6 separate regions of the Homo sapiens genome follow, and regions 1, 2, 3, 5 and 6 are each linked to region 4. The links are contacts of gene promoters, found by promoter capture Hi-C in blood cells and fetal thymus (Javierre and others, 2016). All regions are on one chromosome and are shown on one strand. The core of a region is centred on a gene start or on the middle of the fragment in contact, and the rest is flanking DNA. Distances in the headings are between cores, read along the strand shown. Region 1 overlaps MINDY1 (MINDY lysine 48 deubiquitinase 1). Region 2 holds the start of LOC105371438 (a long non-coding RNA gene). Region 3 overlaps CDC42SE1 (CDC42 small effector 1). Region 4 holds the start of ENSA (endosulfine alpha). Region 5 overlaps CTXND2 (cortexin domain containing 2). Region 6 overlaps SETDB1 (SET domain bifurcated histone lysine methyltransferase 1).

What was found. Contacts are between HindIII fragments. The CHiCAGO score rates a contact against its expected background, and 5 or more counts as called.
Region 1: a contact is called between a fragment that was not itself captured here and the fragment with the promoter of ENSA in region 4, in 5 of 17 cell types (fetal thymus, erythroblasts, megakaryocytes and 2 more). The highest score is 8.8, in fetal thymus.
Region 2: a fragment that was not itself captured here is called in contact with the fragment with the promoter of ENSA in region 4 in 3 of 17 cell types (fetal thymus, erythroblasts and endothelial precursors); the score reaches 9.8 in fetal thymus.
Region 3: a fragment that was not itself captured here is called in contact with the fragment with the promoter of ENSA in region 4 in 1 of 17 cell types (fetal thymus); the score reaches 6.7 in fetal thymus.
Region 5: a contact is called between a fragment that was not itself captured here and the fragment with the promoter of ENSA in region 4, in 1 of 17 cell types (endothelial precursors). The highest score is 5.3, in endothelial precursors.
Region 6: a contact is called between a fragment that was not itself captured here and the fragment with the promoter of ENSA in region 4, in 1 of 17 cell types (naive CD4 T cells). The highest score is 5.1, in naive CD4 T cells.

The regions. Positions count from the first base shown.
Region 1 is chr1:150,997,709-151,001,743 of GRCh38, forward strand. It overlaps MINDY1 (MINDY lysine 48 deubiquitinase 1), which reads right to left. Exons shown (of 10, transcript NM_001376665.1): 3 at 4,017-4,035; 4 at 3,542-3,606; 5 at 2,749-2,907; 6 at 2,154-2,256; 7 at 1,661-1,803; 8 at 374-565; 9 at 1-71. Among named protein-coding and RNA genes, the nearest start is that of MINDY1, 7.2 kb to the right of the region's middle. RefSeq lists an enhancer at 1-336. The HindIII fragment of the contact is 1,422 bases long and covers 2,047-3,468 here.
Region 2 is chr1:150,978,852-150,983,110 of GRCh38, forward strand. It overlaps LOC105371438 (a long non-coding RNA gene), which reads right to left and starts at 2,654. Exons shown (of 3, transcript XR_922135.3): 1 at 2,570-2,654; 2 at 2,353-2,462; 3 at 1,107-1,235. It overlaps ANXA9 (annexin A9), which reads left to right and starts at 3,441. Exons shown (of 14, transcript NM_003568.3): 1 at 3,441-3,528; 2 at 3,636-3,732; 3 at 4,239-4,259. The coding sequence starts at 4,255. RefSeq lists an enhancer at 3,965-4,259. The HindIII fragment of the contact is 1,084 bases long and covers 1,158-2,241 here.
Region 3 is chr1:151,051,085-151,054,849 of GRCh38, forward strand. It overlaps CDC42SE1 (CDC42 small effector 1), which reads right to left. Exons shown (of 5, transcript NM_020239.4): 4 at 3,147-3,237; 5 at 1-2,243. The coding sequence ends at 3,163. It overlaps C1orf56 (chromosome 1 open reading frame 56), which reads left to right. Exons shown (of 2, transcript NM_017860.5): 2 at 1-336. Among named protein-coding and RNA genes, the nearest start is that of C1orf56, 5.2 kb to the left of the region's middle. The HindIII fragment of the contact is 6,723 bases long and covers 1-3,765 here.
Region 4 is chr1:150,627,126-150,630,951 of GRCh38, forward strand. It overlaps ENSA (endosulfine alpha), which reads right to left and starts at 2,487. Exons shown (of 4, transcript NM_004436.4): 1 at 2,289-2,487; 2 at 342-467. The coding sequence starts at 2,345. LOC112268239 (a long non-coding RNA gene) reads left to right here and starts at 2,694. Exons shown (of 2, transcript XR_007066603.1): 1 at 2,694-3,377. RefSeq lists enhancers at 2,202-2,471, 2,214-3,181, 3,182-3,826. The HindIII fragment of the contact is 4,295 bases long and covers 1-2,817 here.
Region 5 is chr1:150,903,396-150,907,377 of GRCh38, forward strand. The region is part of intron 1 of CTXND2 (cortexin domain containing 2); the gene reads left to right. LOC107985204 (a long non-coding RNA gene) reads right to left here. Exons shown (of 3, transcript XR_001738231.2): 2 at 3,607-3,696. It also overlaps the pseudogene CYCSP51. Among named protein-coding and RNA genes, the nearest start is that of CTXND2, 18 kb to the left of the region's middle. The HindIII fragment of the contact is 6,110 bases long and covers 1-3,982 here.
Region 6 is chr1:150,961,430-150,965,522 of GRCh38, forward strand. It overlaps SETDB1 (SET domain bifurcated histone lysine methyltransferase 1), which reads left to right. Exons shown (of 22, transcript NM_001366418.1): 17 at 701-729; 18 at 1,158-1,290; 19 at 1,545-1,710; 20 at 2,101-2,312; 21 at 2,566-2,654; 22 at 2,818-3,308. The coding sequence ends at 2,935. It overlaps CERS2 (ceramide synthase 2), which reads right to left. Exons shown (of 11, transcript NM_022075.5): 11 at 3,757-4,093. Among named protein-coding and RNA genes, the nearest start is that of CERS2, 11 kb to the right of the region's middle. RefSeq lists enhancers at 3,352-3,496, 3,989-4,093 and cis regulatory regions at 3,424, 4,060. The HindIII fragment of the contact is 977 bases long and covers 1,304-2,280 here.

The DNA of each region.
Region 1 (4,035 bases), core at 1,508-4,007, 370 kb after region 4:
AGCTCCAAGTCGGTAAGCCCCAGCGGGCCTCGTGGCTGTTGCTGCTGCAGGGACAGAGCAATCAGGTAGTCCTGGGGAGAACAAGAGTTGTGCAGTGGGCTGAGGCCCAGAGCCGTGGCTATTCAGGCAAGGTTTCCAAATCAGTTTTCCCACATCCCTCAAATTCTCTAGCTCTTTCTCCCCACAGAGCAGCACACACAGCCAAATGCATTATCTGTGGTGCCAGAGAATACACACCAAGTGAGGAGACGGTCTGAGGTAACCCAGAGAGAGAGGCATGGGTTCACATGGCCTCTAGCAGTTAAAATGTATGCAGTAAAAAGCTCTCTGAGGCACATGTGCTCTCTGCACTTTTCCTAAGTGCCCTACACACCTGGTCTACCTGCAGCTGCGTTTCTGGGGAGCCACTCCCACCTTCTGCTCCAGGCCCCTTGCCCAGGGAATGACTCAGGTGAAAGTCAGAGTCACAAAAGCAGCTGTCTCCATCCACATTGTGCAGGCTCTCCCATACGACTTGCTCCTCCTGTAGAAAGCCCTGGTCAGTGACCAGTAGGTATAAGTGACTCTACAAAGAAAAGAACAGAGCTCATTGGGGGGACAGTTGATACGGAGGCAGTTCACTGCCAGAAATCTCGGTATGAGCATGTGGACTTTTTTTTTCTTGGAGATGGAGTCTCGCTCTGTCATCCAGGCTGGAGTGCAGTGGCACAATCTCTGCTCACCGCAAGCTCTGCCTCCCAGGTTCACACCATTCTCCTGCCTCAGCCTCCCAAGTAGCTGGGACTACAGGCACCCGCCACCATGCCTGGCTAATGTTTGGTATTTTTTTAGTAGAGACGGGGTTTCACCGTGTTAGCCAGGATGGCCTCGATCTCCTGACCTCATGATCTGCCCGCCTCGGCCTCCCAAAGTGCTGGGATTACAGGCATGAGCCACCGCACCCGGACCCTGAGCATGCGGACCTTTTACAAATATGTGTGGCCTTGGGGGGAAGAAAGGGATGTCTGAGTGTATGTCCAGTTGGGTGTGAGCACGGTGGTCATTCTGGCTAAGCGTGGCATGGAGTCGTTGGGGCTGAGATGCCACATAAGACCCTGCTCCCCCCATTTCCCATTGTTCTCTGGGCTTGCCTGATGGCTCTTAGGATAAATCCTTTGAGAACCAGAGACCCCTCCCTCTGCTGCTCAAATCCTAGAGAGCTTTGGCAGTTTCTAACTTTTGAAGACCAGCATTGTTTAAAAATTCCACTGCCCCCTCCTAGGGGAGGATCATACTTTCCTGTCCCATCGACGGCAGGCTTATCCCTTATGGCTTGCTCTGGCCAGAAGATGTGAGCAGAAATGACATGTGTCATTTCCAAACAGAAGCTCTAAGCATGAGTGCACAGTGCCCCTCTCTCTCTCTGTTCCCACATATATTCCAGATAAAGGATCTTTTGTCAGCTGGGTCCCAGAGTGAAGATGGTGTGGGACAGAACCGTAGCCAGTCCACAGTGGACACGCACCAGGAGCGGGAAATGAACCTTTGTTGTGGTAAACCACAGGGATTTGAGGGGTCACTTGCTACCACGGCTTAATCTAGCTGATCCCAGCTGGACCCACGAGAAAAAGGCACCAGGAAATGACAGCACCGCAGCACGCCACCCCCAAACTCGCATTACCTTATGCTTAGTCATGGTGCTAAAGTGGTTGTTTCGGAAAAAGACGCTAAGTTCACCCTCCTTAGCAGCTGCTGTCAGCTCACACAGTCCGTGGTAGGTCAGCTGGGCCGCGGTGGTCTCCAGGAACTGCTCTGCAATCAGGCCTGCCAGAAAGGGACGAGTCGGGGGAAACTTGGCTTAAATTCAAGGTCCACAACAGGAAGGACCATCCAGAGAGCCCCTGTCAAAAGCCCCGGGGGGTCAGTCCCACCTTCTGACGTCCCTTTCTTGAAACCTGGCTGTATTCATTCACTTAACAAATACTTATAATAGAGCAGCTACCTTGTGCCAGGCACTGGGGATACCTCAATGAACTAAACAGAAATTCCCCAAGCTCCTTCTTGTGAAGCTTATATCTAGTGGGATGTGGTAGGAGATGACACCCAATAAAAAATAAGCCTAAGTAGCTGTCATTCCCTCCACATACTATCCATGAGAAGGGGAGGAATGTCACCTTCTGTCACGAGGTTGGTGTCACTGGAGTGTTTGCAGGTGATGATCCTCTCCACCAGCTGGTTGTAACTCAGTTTCCCAACTGCACGCACAGCCTCAGGACTCTGCTTGGGTAGTGGGATGTGGGATACCAAAAAAATTGGGATTTTTTTTTCTTTTTTAAGGAAGGAAATGAACAAAGCTCACAAGGACTACAACCCTGTGATGAATGGTTCCTAAACACTTTTTTTTTTTGGTCTCTCAAAAAAGAAAAAAATTTCAGGAACCATTCATCATAGGGTTGCTATGTTGCCCAGACTGGCCTCGAACTCCTCCCAAGTAGCTGGGAATACAGGCATGTGCCACCAAACCCATCTGCTTCCTGAATTTTTGATGTCTAAAGAACTGACCTATTTGCATGTAGTTTGCTTGTATTTGCATGTTACCCCCAAAATAGATTAAAATTCAAGGAATTCTGTACTGGGTCCAGTCTCTAAACACTATTTCCCTCCCAAGCCAATCTAACCCCTAACTCCCTAACCTCTACCCGACAAAAATTTGCCTCTCTCATGTCAGCTTGAGCTGGATAAGGTCCCAGTGGGCCCTCCCACCCTCACCTGTGGATCAACAAGCCAGCCATGGTACAGAGGTATGCCTAGCAGGTCAAAGACACTGCACTCGGGTGTATACTCAAAATCAGAGACGCCTGTGAATCGCACATTGACATCCAGACCTGTGGCCAGTTTAGGCAGCACTGTCATTGCATCATCCACATTCTGGGGGTAGAAAAAAAAATGATGGAGATTCTAGCCTTCTCTCCCACCACTCCACTCCCACCTGCAGAAATTAAAAATTAACCTTGCTGCTCTTCTTCCCTGATTCTCTTACAAGCCACTCCATTTCTCCCTTGCCTCAACCCTTCTCTATCTTATATAAATGAACATTGTTTTTCTTTGAGAGTCTAAGTCTAATTCTTTCATCCAGGCTGGAGTGCAGTGGTGTGATCCTAGCTCACTGCAGCCTCAAACTCTTGGTTTCAAGTGACCCTCCCACCTCAGCCTCCTGAGTAGCTGGGACTACAGGCACGCACCGCCATACCTGGCTAATTCTTGAAAAAAAAAATGGTTTTTTTTAGAGACAGGGGTATTATTATGTTGCCCAGGCTGGCCTCGAACTCCTGGCCTCAAGTGATCCTCCCGCTTTGGCATCTCAAAGTGCTGGGATTACAGGTGTGAGCACCCGGCCAATGAACATATTTTCTAGGACAAAGATAAACTCTCCTCTGACTCCTGCAGAATGAAATCATGGTTCAAGGAAACCTCTGAAGAAGCAACAAAAGCTTATCTTAGTATTACAAGATGTCCCCTTACAAACCTGCAAACCCCTATGCCTGCAGACCTTTTGCCTCACCTGCTGAAAATTAAGCTGAAGTCCCTCTGACTTCTCCTGGGGCTTGATGGACAGGAGGCAGTTTCCTACAAGACAGGGCCCCTTATCAGCTTACCCCACCAATCATCCCAAAAGCTAAGTTTCCTCTTCTCCTGGAGAATGCGGGTAATGTCACAGAACACAGATTTTCAGAGCTGGAAAATACTTAGAGTCTAATCCAGACTCTTCATTTCTCAGAGGAGGCGACAGCCTCATAAAGGTGAACGGCCCACCCAGGGTCAGATACAAAAGCTAAGGGCAGAATTGGTGTTACAACCCAGGACTCCCGACGCCTTTGCTTTTCATTCTCCAGCCTTGCAGAGAAGCCCCATAGACCCTTACCCTCCCTGCTGTATCAGAACCCCCAAATGGAGATCCCTGAATAGTCTGGATTTCTGGCTGAGTGGATAGCTCTGGAGCCCCTTGGGTAATTCCTCTTCAACGCCCAGTCACTCACCAAGATGGGCCATGAGCTC
Region 2 (4,259 bases), core at 450-2,949, 350 kb after region 4:
TACTCAGGAGGTTGAGGCAGGAGAATTGCTTGAACCAGGGAGTCGGAGGTTGCAATGAGCCGAGATCGCGCCATTGCACTCTAACCTGGGCAACAGAGTGAGACTCTGTCTCAAAAAAAAGAAAAGAAAAGGTGGTAGATTAGATCCTCTCTAAGATTTCCTCCAACTCTGCAATTCTAAAATGTACAACATGGGGAAGGAAGGTGATCAGTACAACTGTAAACAACTGCAATCCGGCCCTGAAGTTGAACAAAACAAAACCTAGGGAGAGGAATGAGTTTGTAGCAGGTTTCAATGCAGCGATTGTGAACGCATCACACACACACTCCTCACAGGCAAGGACTTCGCTTCTGCCATGTGACTGAGACTCTGTTGGACTTCTCCAAATTCAGAGTTCAGCCTGGCATGCCGGCCAGGAGCCCCTTGGAGAGATTCGGCGTGAGGAAACAGGAGGCCTCACGCTTCCTTCGGTTCTCCCTAAATCTGCTGGGCAGGTAGCCAGAAGAAACTCTGAAGGGTACAGAAAGCCGAGGGCCAGGGGGACCCCGGCTGCGGAGCTGCAGTACCGTGTTTACCCAGCCTAACTGCGGTCACCCAGTCTCCTGCATGTGTCTGAGGTCAGCCTCGGGGGCTCCCCTGAGTAGGTATCTACCTGAGGCTCTTCCCCTGATGCTACCTGCATACCAATTCCACCCAGGAACCTGGCGTCCTCAGGAGGCTGCACTTCCCAAGTGGGCTGAGACAGCCCCTTAATATGTGGGGCTGGAGCCAGAGACCTCAAGGGGCCACTAGGGGGCTCGAGACTCTCAGTGGCTGCTGACGCCCTCTTGTGGCCATTTTGGGGATTGGCCAGAAAAGTTTCAGAAGCGAGCCAAGATCGGAATTCTTAAGGAGGTAAGTAATAACAACAGTAACAGTTACCATATAACAATACTTATCGTTATATATTTGATAACATTGTGACATTTCTACTTAACAGCGCTGTGCCCAGAACTCTTCTAAGTGCTTTATATGCACTGTAGTTATTTAATTCTCACAACAACCTATAACATAAACACTATTACTTGTCTGTTGATGATGAGGAAACTGAGCACAGAATAGTTGCCCAAGGTCACACAGAAGACCAGAATCCCGACTCTGAGAAGTCTGGCTCCAGAAGCTTTGCTTTTAGCCACCACGCTGAGACTGAGTTCCATTTTGGGGTTGTCAGGTGAAATACAGGACACACTGTTAAACTATAATTTCAGATAAACAAAAAATAATAATTACAGGCGGTGGCTCACGCCTGTAATCCCAGCACTTTGGGAGTCCAAGGCAGGTGGATCACGAGGTCAGGAGTTCGAGACCAGCCTGGCCAACATGGTGAAACCCTATCTCTACTAAGAATACAAAAAATTAGCCAGGCATGATGGCAGGCGCCTATAATCCCAGCTACTCGGGAGGCGGAGGCAGGAGAATCGCTTGAACCCGGGAGGTGGAGCTTGCAGTGAGCCAACATAATGCCACTGCACTCCAGCCTGGGCAACAGAGAGAGACTCCGCCTCAAAAAAAAAAATGTTAGTATATTTAATGAAATATTTGGGTCATACTTGTACCAACAAATGATTCCTCATTTACGTGAAATTCTGATTAAGCTGCATGTCCTGTATATTTATTTATTTAATCTAATACCCCTACTTTACAGGGCACTTTTCTCTGCCACATGCAATTACACAGATTACTTTTTTTTTTTTTTTTTTTTTTTGAGACGGAGTCTCACTCTGTCGCCCAGGCTGTGGAGTGCAGTGGCGCCATCTCAGCTCACTGCAACCTCTGCCTCCCAGGTTCAAGTGATTCTCCTGCCTCAGCCTCCCGAGTAGCTGGGATTACAGGCATGCGCCGCCATGCCCGGCTAATTTTTTGTATTTTTAGTAGAGACGGGGTTTCACTGTGTAAGCCAAGGCTGGTCTCGATCTCCTGCCTCATGATCCACCCGCCTCGGCCTCACAAAGTGCTGGGATTACAGGCATGAGCCACCGTGCCTGGCCACATTACCTTATTTATTTATTTATTTATTTATTTATTTTTATGAGTTCAATAGTTTTTGGGGACAAGGTGGTGTTTGGTTACATGGATAAGTTCTTTAGTGGACACATTACTTCATTTAATCATCCCAGGAAACCTGTCCTCGGAGGCCCCAGCATGTCCCACAGCCTCCGTCTCTCTCAATCCTCCCATTTAGAGAGCTGAAAGGACTAGCGAAGCTTACAGAACATAGGTGGCAGAGCTGGATATTGAACCCTCATTCTCCAGTTCTGACACAGGTGCATGTTTTCCTTTTAACAGGAGAGAAAAGTGAGGAGCAGTGATTACCGCCACAGAAATATCCTTTCATGGCGTGTCCTCCGGCATGGTCTACTCAGTGTGGTGGAGCCACTGCAGGTCCCTCCTCCAGGGATGTAGGAATGCCAGTGAAGGCCTTCCTGAGTTGGGAGAGAGGCAGAGGAGTGAGTGGAGGCAGGGCTGTAGCTTCTGTGCCCCGCCCCTACCCAGGCTCTCCAGGGAGGCAGGAAAGAGGCTGTGTTTAGACCTGAGGGAGCCAGCTGTGAGGCTGGAGCAGTTGCTGCATGGCGGGGCGGGGGCTCCACAGGGCTGTTCACCTGCTGCTCTGTGCAGAGACAGCCTCAAGTCCAGCTGCTGGGGTTGCATCACCTGCAGCTAAAACAGCCACAGGGCCCAGGCTGCCAAAAGGCAACAGAAGCAATCTAAGAAACCAGGCAAGGGAGCCTCCCCCATCTCCCTGTTGCCTTTTGGGAGCATAGAGCTTCCCTCTGAAGGTAACACCCTTTGCATTTTTCTCTCTTGACTCTGTTCATCAACTTCCACTCCCAAATACTTGTGCCCTTCCTTCTCCACAGATATACACAATCCCTGGGCACTCTCCACCTAGGTCAGCTGGCTCTAGTAAGGCAGCAGTCAAGGGAGTTTCTGGGCTGGGACCCCCTCTGGGGTGCAGGCTGGGGTGCCCTGCTGGTATGTGCCCCAACAGGTTTTTCCCTATCAGCCTTGAAATCAGCCTGCAGCCTGTCTGACCTGCCCCCCAGGGAGCTGGAGCCAGAGGCAGAGCCAGGTCAGAAGCTGGGGCAGAGCCAGGTCAGAAGCTGGACTTTGAGACTAGGTCTCTGTGGTCCCACCTGGACCCACAGGGAAGGCAGTGCATAAAAGCCTCCTGTGTTTGAGGCTGAGCCGCTGAGAGGCTGAGTGGAGTTCACTCACATGGATTGAGGCCCAGTTCCTGGGAGAAGAGATGCTGGGCAGGAAGGTGTCTGCATGTGGGACTCTGTACAGCCCGGTCCTCTCCCACGTCTGGGAGGGGCCAGAGTCAGACAACTGCTGGGTTCGTCCCTAAGAGAGGTCATCTGACTGGCTGTTCAGCCTAGGCTGCACACACCCCCACTTTCCTCTACCAGGCCACACCGGAGGCAGTGCTCACACAGGCAAGCTACCAGGCCACAACAACGACACCCACCTCACCTCTGGCACCTCTGAGTAAGTACTGGGCCCACGGCCCCATGCCAGGAGGGCTTGTTGATTGCTTGGGGGAGGGAAAAATGAGTTTTCCTTTTCCAACATGAGAGTGCCTCCTTTCTGTCCAGGCATCCACGTACTTGCAAGAACTCTTGCTCACATCAGCTAAGAGATTGCACCTGCTGACCTAGAGATTCCGGCCTGTGCTCCTGTGCTGCTGAGCAGGTAGGCAGCTGTACAGGCAGGAATTGAGGGTTGCTTGTCAGCTGGGGCTGCCGGTGGGGGAAGATGCTATTTCGAGTTGTCTTCCACTCTGCGTGGTTAATCCTGCCACCTCACCTCAGCTCCCCTGCACTGCCCAGGAGACCCCAGCCAGGCCCAGGAAGGAGGGCCATAGACCTCAGAAGGGAGGCATCTACCGCGGACCAAGGCCTGAGGAGCTTTGGTGCTGACCCTGGCATCAGGGAGGGTTGGCGCCTGGTCCAGGAGCATTCCGCATCAATCCCCACTTCCTAAAGGAGTGGGGAGAGGTGGGGAAGGTGGGGGCTCCCCTCTTACCTCACCATTTCAGCTCCATTTCTGGCTCCAAGCCTAAGCAGGTTGATCTTTTTTTCTGCAGCAAGGAAAGGAACAGGTGACTGGAACCCAGGGTCCAGGGTCTCGGGGGGGTCATAAGGAGTCCCTGAAGGGCCAGGAAATTCAGCTCTGTGGGCTCCTGTTTCCTTCCCCAGGGCAACCAGTAGCACCATGTC
Region 3 (3,765 bases), core at 1,264-3,763, 420 kb after region 4:
TGGTAGCATACATATTAGAGAAGGTAGCTAAAGGCAAGAGAGCACCAAAGGAAAAAGACTGTCCAAAGAACAGGTATTAGAATGAGGCCGAAGATCACGGTGACCAGAGATTTCTAGGAGTCTCTAACCTTTCCACCCTATCCTGTTAACCCTTTAGATCTCTAGTATAACACTCAGGCTACTGAGGTATTTTAGAGCAACAAGCTGGGTTACTTTCAGAGCAACCAGCTTGACTGGAACTGAGAGTAAATTGGGAATGTATGACCAATCTTAGACCCTGAAAAATGGCAGAAAATACATGGAAATTTGAAAAAAAAAAAAAAAAAAAAAAAAAAAGAACCTCAGTCACTGTTCTGTAGGGATAAGCAAACTGAATGGGTGGTGGAATTGGCAGAATGGATACCAGTTCCTACATTCCTGACCCCACTACCATAAAACAGGATGTTTCCTGTTGCAAAGCTAATGAGACCCCACCCTTCTTGTCTCAGAGCAGGCAGGAGCTCATCTGTCTTGTTCTGCCTTCCTAATTACCCTGGAAGGGCCAGAACGAAGAACACCTGAGAATACTGAAAGTGCCTAAAAACCCCTGCTCCTACGTTGTTTTCCCATTTAAAGCAGACTCTTCAGCCAGGGGGCAGTGGGACCTGGTCTTCAGACAAAACTCCCTGAGTCTAATGTGTGTCTAGGACTAGGGCACAGAAATAGAGCTTAAAATTTGGGGAGGATAAGGAGTGTATCTACTGCTTCTCTCTCCCCTTTCCCCAATCCTACCATACCCTGTTCATATCTCTACACTGCAGGAACCACTTCTCCAGAGGGCAAGAATGGAGGAGGGGGACCTGTCCATCATAGCAACATGCAAACACAAGCAAAACACTGAATAAAGAATTGTTTGGAGATTATGTGCAGCCCTACTGAGCCTCATTTATATGGGCTCCTAGTTGATCCATGGCTCGGGCTTAAGATGAGTAAGATGATGAGGGTAGCGTGCCAAGCAGAAATCACTTCAGAGAAAAATATCTTGACTTTAGAGTTGTGGTTCTCAAATGGAGGCGATTTTGCCCCCTAGGAGAAATCTGGCAATGTATAGAGACATTTTTGGTTGTCATAACTAGAGTGGGCCAGGGTTGCTGCTAAATATCCTGTAATGCACAAAATAGGAAACAGGTTTTCCTTACAAAGAACACTTCAGCCCAAAATGTCAAAGGCATCTCGGTTGTGAAACCTTGTTCTAGAGCCTCTCCCTGCTCCCGTGCTGTGAGGATCTTAAGACTCCTAAACTCACAGATGATTGTTTTCAACCTATTTATCTCACCATCCTCAATGATCAGAAGTCCACCTTGAGATGGACTTACTCCTAGTTCTGCCGCATTCTGGGTTTCTTTCCAGACCCCTCTTCCTCCTCTCACCTGGGCCAGCAGGGAGGTTGGCAGAGGGCAGGAAAGATGCCCCAAAACTTAAATGGAATGTCATCAGGTGAAGAGCTACCTCTTACCTTAACTCTTATTCGGTGGGAAACAAGGTTCCTAATAGGGATAGAGTTAAGGGCGGAGGCAACAGCAGGATGAGGATAATTAAGAGAACCTGAATTAAATTTTTAATATTTTAAAAAAGGAAAGTTGCTGGGAAGCTGGTAAACAGAAACAGAAGATTAGAGGCCTAACTAGAAAGAGACACTGGTGTTAGCAGAGAGATATTGAGGGGCTGTAAGCCTAAGGTTTGAAATCTAAAGATAGAGTGGAAAAGGGAGTAGGCACCCCCACCAGCCCCTGCTTGACATCTGCTTTAGTTCATTCCAGCAGGAAGGAGGAGAAGGGCAGGGAGGTAGGGAGCTTCTCAGCAAAGCCAGCTTCAGCTTTGATAATCTCACCCACCTACCCCATTTAAGGAGTTCCAGGTTTAAGAGTTTAAAAACAGGTGGCACCCAGACCATCATTCAGGAGACAGGAACTCATTCCAGGTTCCTAGAGAACTCCTATCTCAGACCTGAGGGTTTCCAGGGCTTCAGCTGAGCTCCTCTGGCTAACCAGTAGTCACTTGATCAGTCCTGCTGCCTTGACCCCATCTCCAGGAGGGGCTATGGCCAGAGGGAGTAGAGGGAGTCCAGCCCCCAAGCCTTGTGAGGCACTGTTAGGCAGATAGGGAAAAGAGGGGTCCTTAGATCACTGGTTCAAGGAGGGATCTGGTAGGGGCAGCATTTCTTCTGGGCTGGAAACAGAATGGGGGTTTCAAGATGGCAGAACCTGAAATAAAAAAAAAGTTTTTCTTAAAGAAGATTAGCCTCAAAGAAAACCAAGGCTTTAGGAAGAAGGCACTACCTAGTGCAGACTTTAAGCTATTTCCACAGTGTGTTCTTTACTTCTGTCTGCACAACACCCTCTCAGTCTTTCTATATCCTACATTCTTTTTTTTTTTGAGATGGAATCTCACTCTGTTGCCCAGGCTGGAGTGCAGTGGCGCAATCTAGACTCACTGCAACCTCCACCTCCCGAGTTCAAGTGATTCTTCGGCCTCAGCCGCCTGAGTAACTGGGATTACAGGCGTGTGCCATCATGCCTGGCTAATTTTTGTACTTTTAGTAGAGACAGGGGTTCACCATGTTGGCCAGGCTGGTCTCAAACTCCTGACCTCAAGTCATCTGCTGACCTCGGCCTCCCAAAGTGCTGGGATTATAGGCGTTAGCCACCATGCCCGGCCTAGATCCTACATTCTTGAATCTTCCCTTCTAATTCCTCCCTATCTCCCATTCTTTTTTTATATTTTGAGATAGAGTCTTGCTCTATCACACAGGCTGGAGTGCAGTGGCGCGATCTCAGCTCACTGTAACCTCCGCCTCCCAGGTTCAAGTGATTCTCATGCCTCAGCCTCCCAGGTAGATGGGACTACAGGAGCACGCCACTGTGCCCGGCTAATTTTTGTATTTTTTGGTAGAGACAGGGTTTTGCCTCGTTGGCCAGGCTGGTCTTGAACTCCTGGCCTCAAGTGATCCACCCATCTCGGCCTCCTAAAGTGCTGGGATTACAGGCATAAGCCACCATGCCCGGCCACACCTCCCTTTCTTGCATAAGATCAGGGTTCTGAGTCAGGGTATCAGGTTGTGCTGTTATGGGGGCTGAGGTGTTAGATGGGTTTCTCTAATCACTCACCATTCCATTATTGGAGCTATAAGCCCCTAGAATTGCTCCATGGCCTATCTCGGTTTCCCTTGGATCTCATCTGCTCCTGAACTGCACCTGTCTGTAAAAAAACAGATGCGAGACACCTTCGTAAGTCTTCATATCCTACAGTAAGAACTCTACTTTGTGCCTTCCAGGGAAGAGGCTGACGCCATCTCCTTGACAATAGCAGCCATCTGCTAACCACCATTCCTCCTAGGGGAGTCTCAATGCCTCTTTTCACACTGGCCTTCATGAGGATGAGGTAAAATGGGTCTTTTACTAATAATATTCCCTCACAATGGATTCTCCCCTATATATCTGAGTTTCAGGATCTGAGAAAAGACTATCTCTAGACCCATTTCCCTTATTTTGGGAACAGAAGTGCATCTTAGACATTATTTAGGATGAAGGTACTCAGCTTTTTTCCTGTCCCAACACTCCTAAATATATGATTTACTGTGGCACTGAGATAGCAGTTCTTAATTAGGAGAAGGGAGAGTTATAAGTTTTTGGAAAAAGCCCTCCAACTATTAAGATATATATACCCCCTACCCCAGTGAAGAACAATCTGCTAAGTTGTAAAGATGAGAGAACCTAGGCCCAGACA
Region 4 (3,826 bases), core at 1,237-3,736:
CTAATGCTTAAAAAGTGCACAATCCTAAAACCTCCAACATTCAAACAGGCAAATGCCTGGGGGCAGTCTGCATTTCAGTTTCTAACATCTTTCCCTCATTTCCCCACACACCCAAATGCTCCAATTTAGGCCTTAATTTCCTACATGGGAAATCAGGAGGGAATTGATACCACATCAGGGATTTACATTAATTTGACTTGCTCTTTTCAAATTTCAAATTCGCCTCTACTTCTGTTCAACAACAAAACCTCCAGAAAAGGATCCAGTAGAACCTCTACAGACTTCATTCGAAGAACCTCCTTTAGCTCCAAAGAAAGAGGGTAAGAGACTATGCCCCATACCCCTTTCTGGAGTCTCTTCATGAGGAAGTCGGAGCCTCCAGGCTTTTGTCCTAGGCTTGGGTATTTGGCCTTTAGCTTTGCCTCTTCAGCTCTCTCAGGCAGAATACCTTCTTTCTCCTGCGTGTCCTGGAGAAAACAAATGAGCCAAATAAAATTAAAGACTGAGAAACAACAGCTTCTCACATCTGATAACAACTATACTATCAACTTCTCCTGGAAATCCACCCACTTGTAAATACGCTATCTCTACTCTGCTGTTAAAGCTAGACCTTTGTTAAAATCCCTAAAGCTCAAGATGACTATTGTGAGAGAAAAAGACAAGCTGCTTCTCACACTTCACCCAAGGAACCAGCCAGGGACCTGTGCGTATTGGGCTAAAGGTAATACTAAACACAATACTTTAATCACAGAGTGGGCCATATCACTCAGCACAAATGCTAAGAAAGACAAAGAGAAAAAAGCAGGGCTTCTGGTGATAGAGGATGAGTAGCAGGGTTCCCTAGGCTATCCTACATGTCACATGAGAAATTAAAAAAAAAATAGTTTGGGGCTGGGAGCAGTGACTCATGCCTGTAATCCCAGCACTTTGGGAGGCTGAGGCAGGTGCATCACTTGAGCTCATGAATTCACTACCCGCCTGGGCAATATGTTGAAACCCCGTCTCTACAACAACAAAAAATAGTTTGCTAAATGTTTCCTCCTTATTTTTTTCTTTCTTTTTTAAAATTGCTACACGACAAAGCAGTTCCTTCTTTATTCAAGGTCTAAGCCACCTGTTAGGTCTCCCTGTGGAGGCGGCTAGCTATGTGGCCTTCTCCAAAGATCTCCACCTGAGTAATGGCACAGCCTTGCTTCAACATTTCCACAAATATTATGGTAGCAAGCTGATAAACAGAGAGGAAAATGATACTGTTTTTAACCTCAGGAAAACAAAGATACAGTAGGCTCACTAGTATTTACCCACCAGTTTTCATCAAAAAAATCAATACCTACCCTGGTGGTGCAGGGACTCTCACTACTGTAGTCAATCTCTTTTTTTTTTTTTTGTGGTCCCTGCTGCCCTTTAGTGACTTTTTGAAAAGATATGAAGTCAACGTATGACTCTTTTTAGTGGAATTATATTCCTTTCTCTTGGAAATTACGCATAGATATAACACCAAGTGTATTTAATGAGTACCTGAACCCAGTACTAAATTTTAAAAGTCAAATACAAACCCCAATAAGGGGTTTATTTGGCGTTAGTGTTTCCATCACGGAATCGCAGGTGCACTAAGTCCCTGCCTTGGAAGTCTAGGGGAAGAGAGAAGTGTCTTTCTCACGACCCTGTCGGCGTCTTTTCCAAGTTTAATTACCATGATTCTGTTTGGAACTCTAGCCCTCTTCAATATTGCTGGGTCCTCACTGAAGGTGAGCAATAGACCATCCTTAGCTACTAAAATAGGTCTCTTGAGAAAGTTGCCGCCTTAAACTAGCCATTATAATAACTACACTTCTCCCCTCCCCCAATACTGGTTTTTTTTTAAACGTCTTTACCTCGACCCCTATCTTTGCGGATTGAGGCTGCGGGCCCCAGCCCGGTTGCTGGGTCACTTACCTCTACAAACCAATAACACACATCACACCCAAGACCACCAGCCATCCCCTTTCCATTCACCGTCTTTCCAACCACCCGCCCCACGTCCATGCTCGGCCAATTATAGCACAGCGTCCAAGGTTTGAGCGGTAGGCCTATTGGCCAATCAGGAAGAGTACAGTACTGAGTGACAAACGACCCAACTAACCAGCGCCAAAGCAGCATGTCGTGTTGAAGCTCACCCAGCGTGACGCAAAAAGTGGCCAACCCCTGCGGAGCCTGAGACCATGGCGACCAATCCGCACTGGTGGGAGACCGTCTCCCGCCCCATCACGGTCTCCCCAGCTCGCCCGCCCGCACCCCTTCCACTTCACCTGCTTCTCCTCGCCGGTCTCCTCCGCAGGGTTCTCTTCTTCTTGTTTCTGGGACATGGCGGGACCGGGACTGTGGAGTGTAAGGGGCCCGGGAAGGCAACCGGAGAAGGGAAGGGGGAGGGGAAACGGGGACAACCTGCGCTGCTGCTTCGGCTCCTGTCACTAGGGTTGCTCAGTCAAAATGGCGGCCCTTGCCCGTGACGTTGCGACCGCCCCTTCCTATGAGAGCCAGTGGGAGTGAGGTAGATAGGGCAATGACGTAACGATCTACCAATAGTCGCCGTCTAAAGGTGGGCTCTATAGAGGCGACCGGCAAGCTGGAACACCAACCTGGAAAGAGAGTGAGCCACAAGGACCAATTGGAAGCCTGTGGGGGATATCGGGGGCGGGGCTGCTGGCTGTGGTACTTTTGCAGCTTTGGTGGGCTCCGGCTTCCTTCACTCCAGCCCACCGCGTCCGAGAGACTTAGCAGGGCGTCAAACTGGAGAGCGGAAGGATGGAACCTTTTATTCTCAGGTGGAGAGGATTAAGCTTTGCGGTGTTAGCAGAAAATGATCGAGCTCCAGAAAATGATTTGGAGGTCAGATTCGATTTTAAAGTAGTACTAACAGGCCGGGCGCGGTGCCTCACGCCTGTAATCCTAGCACTTTGGGAGGCCGAGGTGGGCGGATCACCTGAGGTTAGGAGTTCGAGACCAGCCTGACCAACATGGTGAAACCCCGTCTCTACTAAAAATACAAATATTAGCCGGGCGTGGTGGCGGGCGTTTGTAATCCCAATTACTTGGGAGGCTGAGGCAGGAGAATCGCTTGAACCCTGCAGGCGGAGGTTGCAGTGAGCCGAAATCGCGCCACTGCACTCCAGCCTGGGTGACAGGACGAGACTTTGTCGCGAAAAATAAAATAAAACGGTACCAATGGTATTACGATGTGTCACTTGGCCTGTGGAAGAGAGAGACTGAGTCTCAACCCGAGCTGTCTTGCAAAACACTAATGGCTTACGTTCCGTAGTTTCACTCTTATGTGTAGTTTTTATATTCCATCAGGGTGATCCCTTGGGGACTACGCTCCTTGAAACAAGGAGGACAGTGTAAGTATGTGGTAAACATTTGGTAAATACGGTTAATACTAGTTAACCTATCCAGAATTACAGTTTAACATTTCCTGGGCGTCTGTCTGTATGTGGATGGTACTGTGTTAGTTGGGGGGGGTACGTGTATAGTAAGGCAGTCTCTGCCCTTAGAAAGCTTACAGGCCTGGCTGGGCGCGGTGACTCACGCCTGTAATGCCAGCACTCTGGGAGGCGTAGGCGGGCGAATCACTTGAGGTCAGGAGTTCGAAACCAGCCTGGCCAACATGGTGAAACCCTGTCTCTACTAGAAATACAAAACAAGGCTGGGCACGGTGGCCCACGCATGTAATCCCAGCACCTTGGGAGGCCGATGAGGGTGGATCATGATGTCAGGCGATAGAAACCATCCTGGTCAACATGGAGAAACCCCGTCTCTACTAAAAATACAAAAATTAGCCAGGCGTGGT
Region 5 (3,982 bases), core at 1,236-3,735, 280 kb after region 4:
CCTGTCTGTCTTAACCTAGCCCTGGCCAGACGTTCTCTTTGATTTTTAACTTTTTTTTAATTAAAAGATACCAGTATGAGATGAAAAAATAAAATAAAATTAAAAATAAAAATCACCCTTCTGGCCAGACATGGTGGCTCACGCCTGTAATCCCAGCACTTTGGGAGGCTGAGGCAGGTGGATCAGGAGGTCAGGAGTTCAAGACCAGCCTGGCCAACATAGTGACACCCCGTCGCTACTAAAAATACAAAAAATTTGCTGGAATGGTGGTGGGCGCCTGTAATCCCAGCTGCTCGGGAGGCTGAGGCAGGAGAATCGCTTGAACCTGGGAGGCAGAGGTTGCAGTGAGCAGAGATTGCGCCATTTTTGCCCTCCAGCCTGAGCGACAGTGTGAAACTCCGTCTCAAAAAAAAAAAAAAATTGCCTTTATGGAGAGAGTGGGATGTCCGGCTTCAGAGTGGTAACCTACGTTGCACCAGTGATGAAAAAGAGAATTAAATATGGGTGATGTTGAGAAAGGCAAGAAGATTTTTGTTCAGAAGTGTGCCCAGTGTCACACCGTGGAAAAGGGAGGCAAGCACAAGACTGGGCCTAATCTCCATGGTCTCTTCAGTCAGAAGACAGGTCAGGCTGTTGGATTCTCTTACACAGATGCCAATAAGAACAAAGGCATCATCTGGGGAGAGGATACGCTGATGGAGTATTTGGAAAATCCCAAGAAGTACATCCCTGGAACAAAAATGATCTTTGCCGGCATTAAAAAGAAGGCAGAAAAGGCCGACTTGACAGCTTATCTCAAAAAAGCTACTAATGAGTAATAATTGGCCACTGCCTTATTTATTACAAAACAAATGTCTCATGAATTTTTCATGTGTACCATACTTTAACAGAGCTTATACACCAGAATTCAGATCATGAATGACTGACAGAATATTTTGTCGGACAGTCCTGATTTAAAACTAAGACTGGCTTGTGGTTAAATGAATATGTTCAGTTTTTGAATTTTAATAGTAATTCCAATTCAGTAAATGCTATCACTGTTTACCCCTTCTAAAGATATGATTAGACTTTGTTAGTAATGTTAAACTTTTCACAAAGATGGTGAGTACCATCTTCAAACTTACTGGAGATTGGTTTTATATTTAGATTTATATAACTGGTTATGTGAATATATTTGAATACTGGAGAAATTCCTTCACTGTCTCAGAACCAAGCAAGATTCACCTGTGTTTTGTGTCCATAAAGGCAAGGGTTGAAGATAAATAAGGTAGTAATGTCTACTTTATATTTTTGGCCTTAACTATGCCAATCTAATTAGAATTCCCTGTATTTAAAATGGTTCCTTTTACTTATTGAAAGACATTTTAGTGTGTTTTATGTGTAATATCAAAGATTATTTAGCATTTCTCACATTTTATAAATGATCTATAAGGTCACATGCTTTTAAAATAGTAGCAAGTTAAACTTCACTCTTGAATGCTTGTCAAACTAAGTTATAATTTAGGATAGTCTTTAAACAGCCATTCAGAAACATAAAACTGTAGAACTGCTATGTATTTGTGATTGGGAATGATGCTTTTGCCAACTTAAAAGGATTAAAGTAGAGGAGATACACACAAATTTTAAAATTATGTGTGATCATAAGACAAGATAATCAAAAAGAAAACCACACACACACACACACACACACACACACACACACACACACAAATCACCCTTCATAAGGAACTTGCAGAATCTGCCAATTCTTTTTTTTTTTTTTTTTTTAGGCCGAGTTTCATTCTGTTACCCAGGCTGGAGTGCAAGGGTGTAATTTTGGCTCACTGCAACTTCTACCTCCCGGATTCAAGTCATTCTCCTGCATCAGCCTCCCAAGTAGCTGGGACTACAGGCACACACCACCATGCCCAGCTAGTTTTTGTATTTTTAGTAGAGATGAGGTTTCACCATGTTGGCCAGGCTGGTCTCGGACTCCTGACCTCAGGTGATCCCCCCCAACCTCGGCCTCCCAAAGTGCTGGGATTATAGGCATGAGCCGTGGCACCCGGCCTTATCTGCCCATTCCATCTGCACATCTGGGAGGAGTCCAGGGGGTGGCATGAAAACCCAGTGTAAAAGATATGAGTGCAACTTACCCTGTTGCCCCAGAATTGTGGTCAAGTCTTATTGAAGGCACAATACTACTTATAATCTAAAGAAAGCTGCAACAATTAGAGCCAGAACCTCTTCCAAATCTCATGAGAAGATGGCGTAGTCAATCGTATATCCACCAACTCCCACCCCTTGTCCCACCACAGTATATATAAAGAATAAGGCCGGGCGCAGTGGCTCACGCCTGTAATCCCAGCACTTTGGGAGGCCGAGACGGGCAGATCACGAGGTCAGGATATCGAGACCATCCTGGCTAACACGGTGAAACCCCATCTTTACTAAAAATACAAAAAATTAGCCGGGTGTGGTGGCAGGCACCTGTAGTCCCAGCTGCTCGGGAGGCTGAGGCAGGAGAATGGCGTGAACCCGGGAGGCGGAGCTTGCAGTGAGCTGAGATCACACCACTGCACTCCAGGCTGGGCGACAGAGCGAGACTCCATCTCAAAAAAAAAAGAAGGATGAACTGGGGCCGGGTGTGGTGGCTCATGCCTATAATCCCAGCACTTTGGGAAGCTGAGGTGGGCAGAGGGTTGCTTGAGCCCAGGAGTTTGAAACCAGCCTGGGCATCATAGTAAGGCCTCGTCTCTACAAAAAATTTAAAAATCAGCCAAGTATGGTGGTGGGCACCTGTAGTCACAGCTATCCAGGAGGCTGAGGCAGGAGGATCACTTGAGCCCAGGAGGTTGAGGCTGCATTGAGCTATGACCATGCCACTGCACTCCAGCCTGGGTGACAGAGTGAGACCCTACCTCAAAAACAACAACAACAACAACAAAAAGAATGAACTGGGAGGGCAACTGGGAATTCTCATTATCGGCATTATGGGATGTACAAAATTTGTGATGAGAAGCAAAGATAAAAGTACTTCCCCTTCCTCCCAAAGCCAAAGATGAGGGCATGCCAAGAGAGACATTGGTACAATTGGTGACACCAGCAAGGAGAGACTAACAGCATTTCATTCCCTAGATAGATGCTTTAAACTGTAGAACCTGCCAAACCACTCTGGTCAGGTTGGAGTAAAGCATGGTGTGAGTTTTTAACCTGTGCAAACATAAAAAATCATGTCAATTTCTTGGCTACAGAGATCTGAAAGTGGAAGGCCCACTGGAATAATCTGTGCTGGCAGGGTTTATAGGTACCTTGGCAGAGTATGCCTAGGAAGAAAATGTGGCCAATCCCCCCAACCCATCACAGTCTGGCCACTCCCCTTGAAGGACTTCAGGTGTCTCCGAAGGAGCAGGAGCAGTGGGAGGTGCCAGGAGACCACTGTACCAAGCCATGTGATATCCAACGTGAGTTTAGGTTGGGAGAATAGAGGATAAGCAGCACCATTTGAAGGGGTCTTCAATGACAGAAAAGTCCAGAATGAAGAGAAACGCTACTCAAAAAACTACAAACATCCTTCACTCTGAAACCACCAGATCTAACCAGAGTAAGACCAGGTCACCTACTCACAGTTGGCCACAGCTGATTCATTAAATAGAGAAACACTTCACATTTTCCCCTTCCTTTCTTCCTGATCCTGTACAATGCAGAAGAAGAAGCCTGAAAAGGGAGAAGAGCTAATAGAACTCTAAATCCTCTATAAGATTAGGAATTTAAAACTGAACTAAGGTTTTACAAAAACCAGCTTTATTAAGATATAATTCACATACAATTCAACCATTTCAAATGTACAATTGAATGGTTTTTAGCACATTCACAGAAATGTTTTACCATTACCACAGTTGTAGAACATTTTTATCACCTCCAAAAGAAAACCTGTATCATTTAACTTTCACCCCCTCATCCCCCACCTCCAGCTCTAAGCAACCACTAATCTGTCTCTATA
Region 6 (4,093 bases), core at 542-3,041, 330 kb after region 4:
ATAACTTGAAGTTCAGGAGTTGGAGACCATCCTGGCCAACATGGTGAAACCCCGTCTCTACTAAAAAATACAAAAATTAGCCGGGCGTGGTGGTGCATGCCTGTATTTCCAGCTACTTGGGAGGCTGAGGCAGGAGAATCGCTTGAACCTGGAGGGTGGAGGTGCAGTGAGCCGAGATCGCACCACTGCACTCCAGCCTGGGTGACAGAACGAGACTCTGTCTCAAAAAAAAAAAAATTATTTTAAAATCCACTTGCCTGGTGGTAGAGGGTGGACAAGTATCTGATTAATTACAAAATGAAAGATTTATAAGTGATTTTTTAATGTTAAATGCTGTTTCAAGTTATTCACATCATTGTTTCCTTCTACTAAAGTAGAGAAACAAGAATTGATTTTAAGTATCTCTTTGATGATTATGCTGCTTTCCACATTACAGATGGTGAAACTGTCCCTGGTTGATGTAATCCTGCTCGTGGTGTTTTCCATGAGCATTAAGCCCCATCACTGAGAAGGCTTAAAGGCTCCAGCCAGGGAGTGTAGTGAGGATTTCTGTCAAGTTGCAGAGTGGTTTACCCACCCCACTTTAGAATGTGTACCTGTCACTGGCTGATGTTATCTGTGGAGGTCATTTGAAGTCTGATTATTGGACTTGTTACCCGAGGCTGTGAAAGCATTTAACCCTTCACTTGTTCTTTTCCAGGACACTGACGACCGAAACAAGATGTCAGTGTAAGTGCCTTTTGTTTTGTTTTGTTTTGAGACAGAGTCTTGCTTTGTCACCCAGGCTGGAGTGCAGTGGCGTAATCTCAGCTCATTGCAACCTCCCCCTCCCAGGCTCAAGAGATTCTCCCACCTCAGCCTCCCTAGTAGCTGGGACTACGGGTGTGCACCACCATGCCTGGCTAGTTTTTGTATTTTTTGTAGACACGGGGTTTCACCATGTTTCCCAGACTGGTCTTGAACTCCTGGGCTCAAGCGATGCTCCCAAAGGGGATCCTCAGCCTCCCAAAGTGCTGGGATTACAGCCATGAGCTACCGTGTCCAGCCCAGTGCCTGTCTTTTTGACCTGTCTCCAAATCTGCCTTCTCTCAAACCTAGGCTAGAAGCCTAAGAAACAGCCAGTAACCTGTTGGCTTCATTCCTTCCCCTCCCATTAGAGTTACTGAAAGCTCTCGAAATTACGGTTACAATCCTTCTCCTGTGAAGCCTGAAGGACTTCGCCGCCCACCTAGTAAGACTAGTATGCATCAAAGCCGAAGACTCATGGCTTCTGCTCAGTCCAACCCTGATGTAAGTCACCTCAAGCTTATTCAGAGTCTAATAAAGGAAAATGGGCCATTGTCACCTCATCAAGTCCTTCACTATAATTACTGTTAGGTCTTCTCCTACTTCTTTAGCCTTGACTTCCTGCCTTATTTTCTTTCATCCAGCATCTAATCTTCCTCTTGCCACCGCCCTTTCCTGCCAAACCGTGGGTAACAGCAAGGACTTAAAGGAGCCCTTCCCATTTACTTCTCTTACTTCTTACCCTCCTGCTTCCCCAGGATGTCCTGACACTGTCCAGCAGCACAGAAAGTGAGGGGGAAAGTGGGACCAGCCGAAAGCCCACTGCTGGTCAGACTTCGGCTACAGCGGTTGACAGTGATGATATCCAGACCATATCCTCTGGCTCTGAAGGGGATGACTTTGAGGACAAGAAGAACATGACTGGTAGCCTGGAAAAATTTTGGGAATGGTGGGAAGAAATAGTAAGAAACTTGGGATAGAGCATTTTTTAAGGAAGCTAAAGAAGTAGTGGGTAAAAATTCAGATCCTAAGAATTGGAGCATCTCTGGGAGGGCTTTCTGACTCCAAGCTAAACTATTGTTTGACACATCCTCTCTCATTTCCATTTTTTTACTCTTTCCCCTCAGCTCCTTTGTCTAGCAGATCTAATTATGCTTGAAAAAAAAACCTGCTACTTAGGATCTTTGAGTTCCAGCTTATTGGTGTTTCTCAGCTGCAATGTTGGGAGAGAAATAGGGGTAGAATGTCCATTCATGATAGAATGTCTGTTCATGAGTTGGGATGGGTCCTGACCCCATTCTCCCTCCTGTCCAGGTCCAATGAAGCGTCAAGTGGCAGTAAAATCAACCCGAGGCTTTGCTCTTAAATCAACCCATGGGATTGCAATTAAATCAACCAACATGGCCTCTGTGGACAAGGGGGAGAGCGCACCTGTTCGTAAGAACACACGCCAATTCTATGATGGCGAGGAGTCTTGCTACATCATTGATGCCAAGCTTGAAGGCAACCTGGGCCGCTACCTCAACGTGAGACCCCTCTCCCCACCTCTAGATGCTGGATTATCCCATGGTCCTCAGATTTCTTTTAACATACTCTATAAGCCCTTTTCTTGTTATAAACTCTTGATCTCAAAGGATCTTAAAGAGGTAGCTTTCTTTCAAAGCATCTATTATAATGGGGAGGGTCAGATGGCATCATTTTTCTTCCAACTCTCACTCTCCCTGCAAAGCCAGGTTCAGTTTCCCTGGTTCTTATTTGATCCTGTCCTTAAACCTACAGCACAGTTGCAGCCCCAACCTGTTTGTCCAGAATGTCTTCGTGGATACCCATGATCTTCGCTTCCCCTGGGTGGCCTTCTTTGCCAGCAAGTAAGGAGTCAGGAAAGGGGATGACTGGGGAGGGGCAAGGACCACTGAAGTTCTAAGGGCCCCTCCTCCATTCATGATCCAACTCCACCTACATATTCAGTAACCCCAAGTGCCTGGGTTATCTGCTGTCTTTGCCACACACCATCCTTTTCTTCCTCTTCAGAAGAATCCGGGCTGGGACAGAACTTACTTGGGACTACAACTACGAGGTGGGCAGTGTGGAAGGCAAGGAGCTACTCTGTTGCTGTGGGGCCATTGAATGCAGAGGACGTCTTCTTTAGAGGACAGCCTTCTTCCCAACCCTTCTTGAACTGTCGTTTCCTCAGGAACTGGGTCTTCCTGATTGTTGAACCCTGACCCGAAGTCTCTGGGCTAGCTACTCCCCCCAGCTCCTAGTTGATAGAAATGGGGGTTCTGGACCAGATGATCCCTTCCAATGTGGTGCTAGCAGGCAGGATCCCTTCTCCACCTCCAAAGGCCCTAAAGGGTGGGGAGAGATCACCACTCTAACCTCGGCCTGACATCCCTCCCATCCCATATTTGTCCAAGTGTTCCTGCTTCTAACAGACTTTGTTCTTAGAATGGAGCCTGTGTATCTACTATCTCCAGTTTGTATTATTTCTTGAAAGTCTTTTAACAATATGATAAAACTAAGATTGTGGTTTTGTTTCTCTCTCTCAGCCCGATACTCCCAATTCTGGATCTTTCAGTGAGGTATTATCCCCATCCTCCCCTGTGGGCTGCTGTCATTCATCTTCTACCTTGTCTACCTTTGCTTCTTGCATGTGAATTTTTTTAGATGGAGTTCTCGCTCTGTCACCCAGGCTGGAGTGCAATGGTGCAATCTCGACTCACTGCAGCCTCCGCCTCCCGGGTTCAGGTGATTCTCCTGCCTCAGCCTCCTAAGTAGCTGAGATTACAGTCGCCCGCCACCACACCCAGCTAGATGTATTTTTAGTAGAGATGGGGTTTCGCCATGTTGGCCAGGCTGGTCTCAAACTCCTGACCTCTAGTGATCCACCCTCCTTGGCCCCTCAAAGTGCTCAAATTACATGCATGTGAAATTTAAAAAAGAAAATATTACATAACTGCAAGGAAGGCATAAGAAAGACTCTCTTCGTTTATTTAGTTGATCCCCCTTCTCAATTCCTAATAGTCTGACACTTATTGCCATGTTTTATTTAATATTTTTTATTTAATCTTTTAATTTTTAAAAAAAACCCATTAACAGTACATTTTGGTCTAAAATGGTCCCTCTGCTGAAATGCTAGGTGCTAGCCGTAATTCTGGCTTTAAAACCAAAACCCCAAATATTTAATAAATAAAAATTAGAATTAGTTGCCATTCTACTCCAAACCAGCTAGCCTAGCTGAAGAGAAGAGGGAAGGGGGAAGAGGCCAGAGAAAGGAGGAGGCAGTCAGATCTTAGACCTGTCGCTA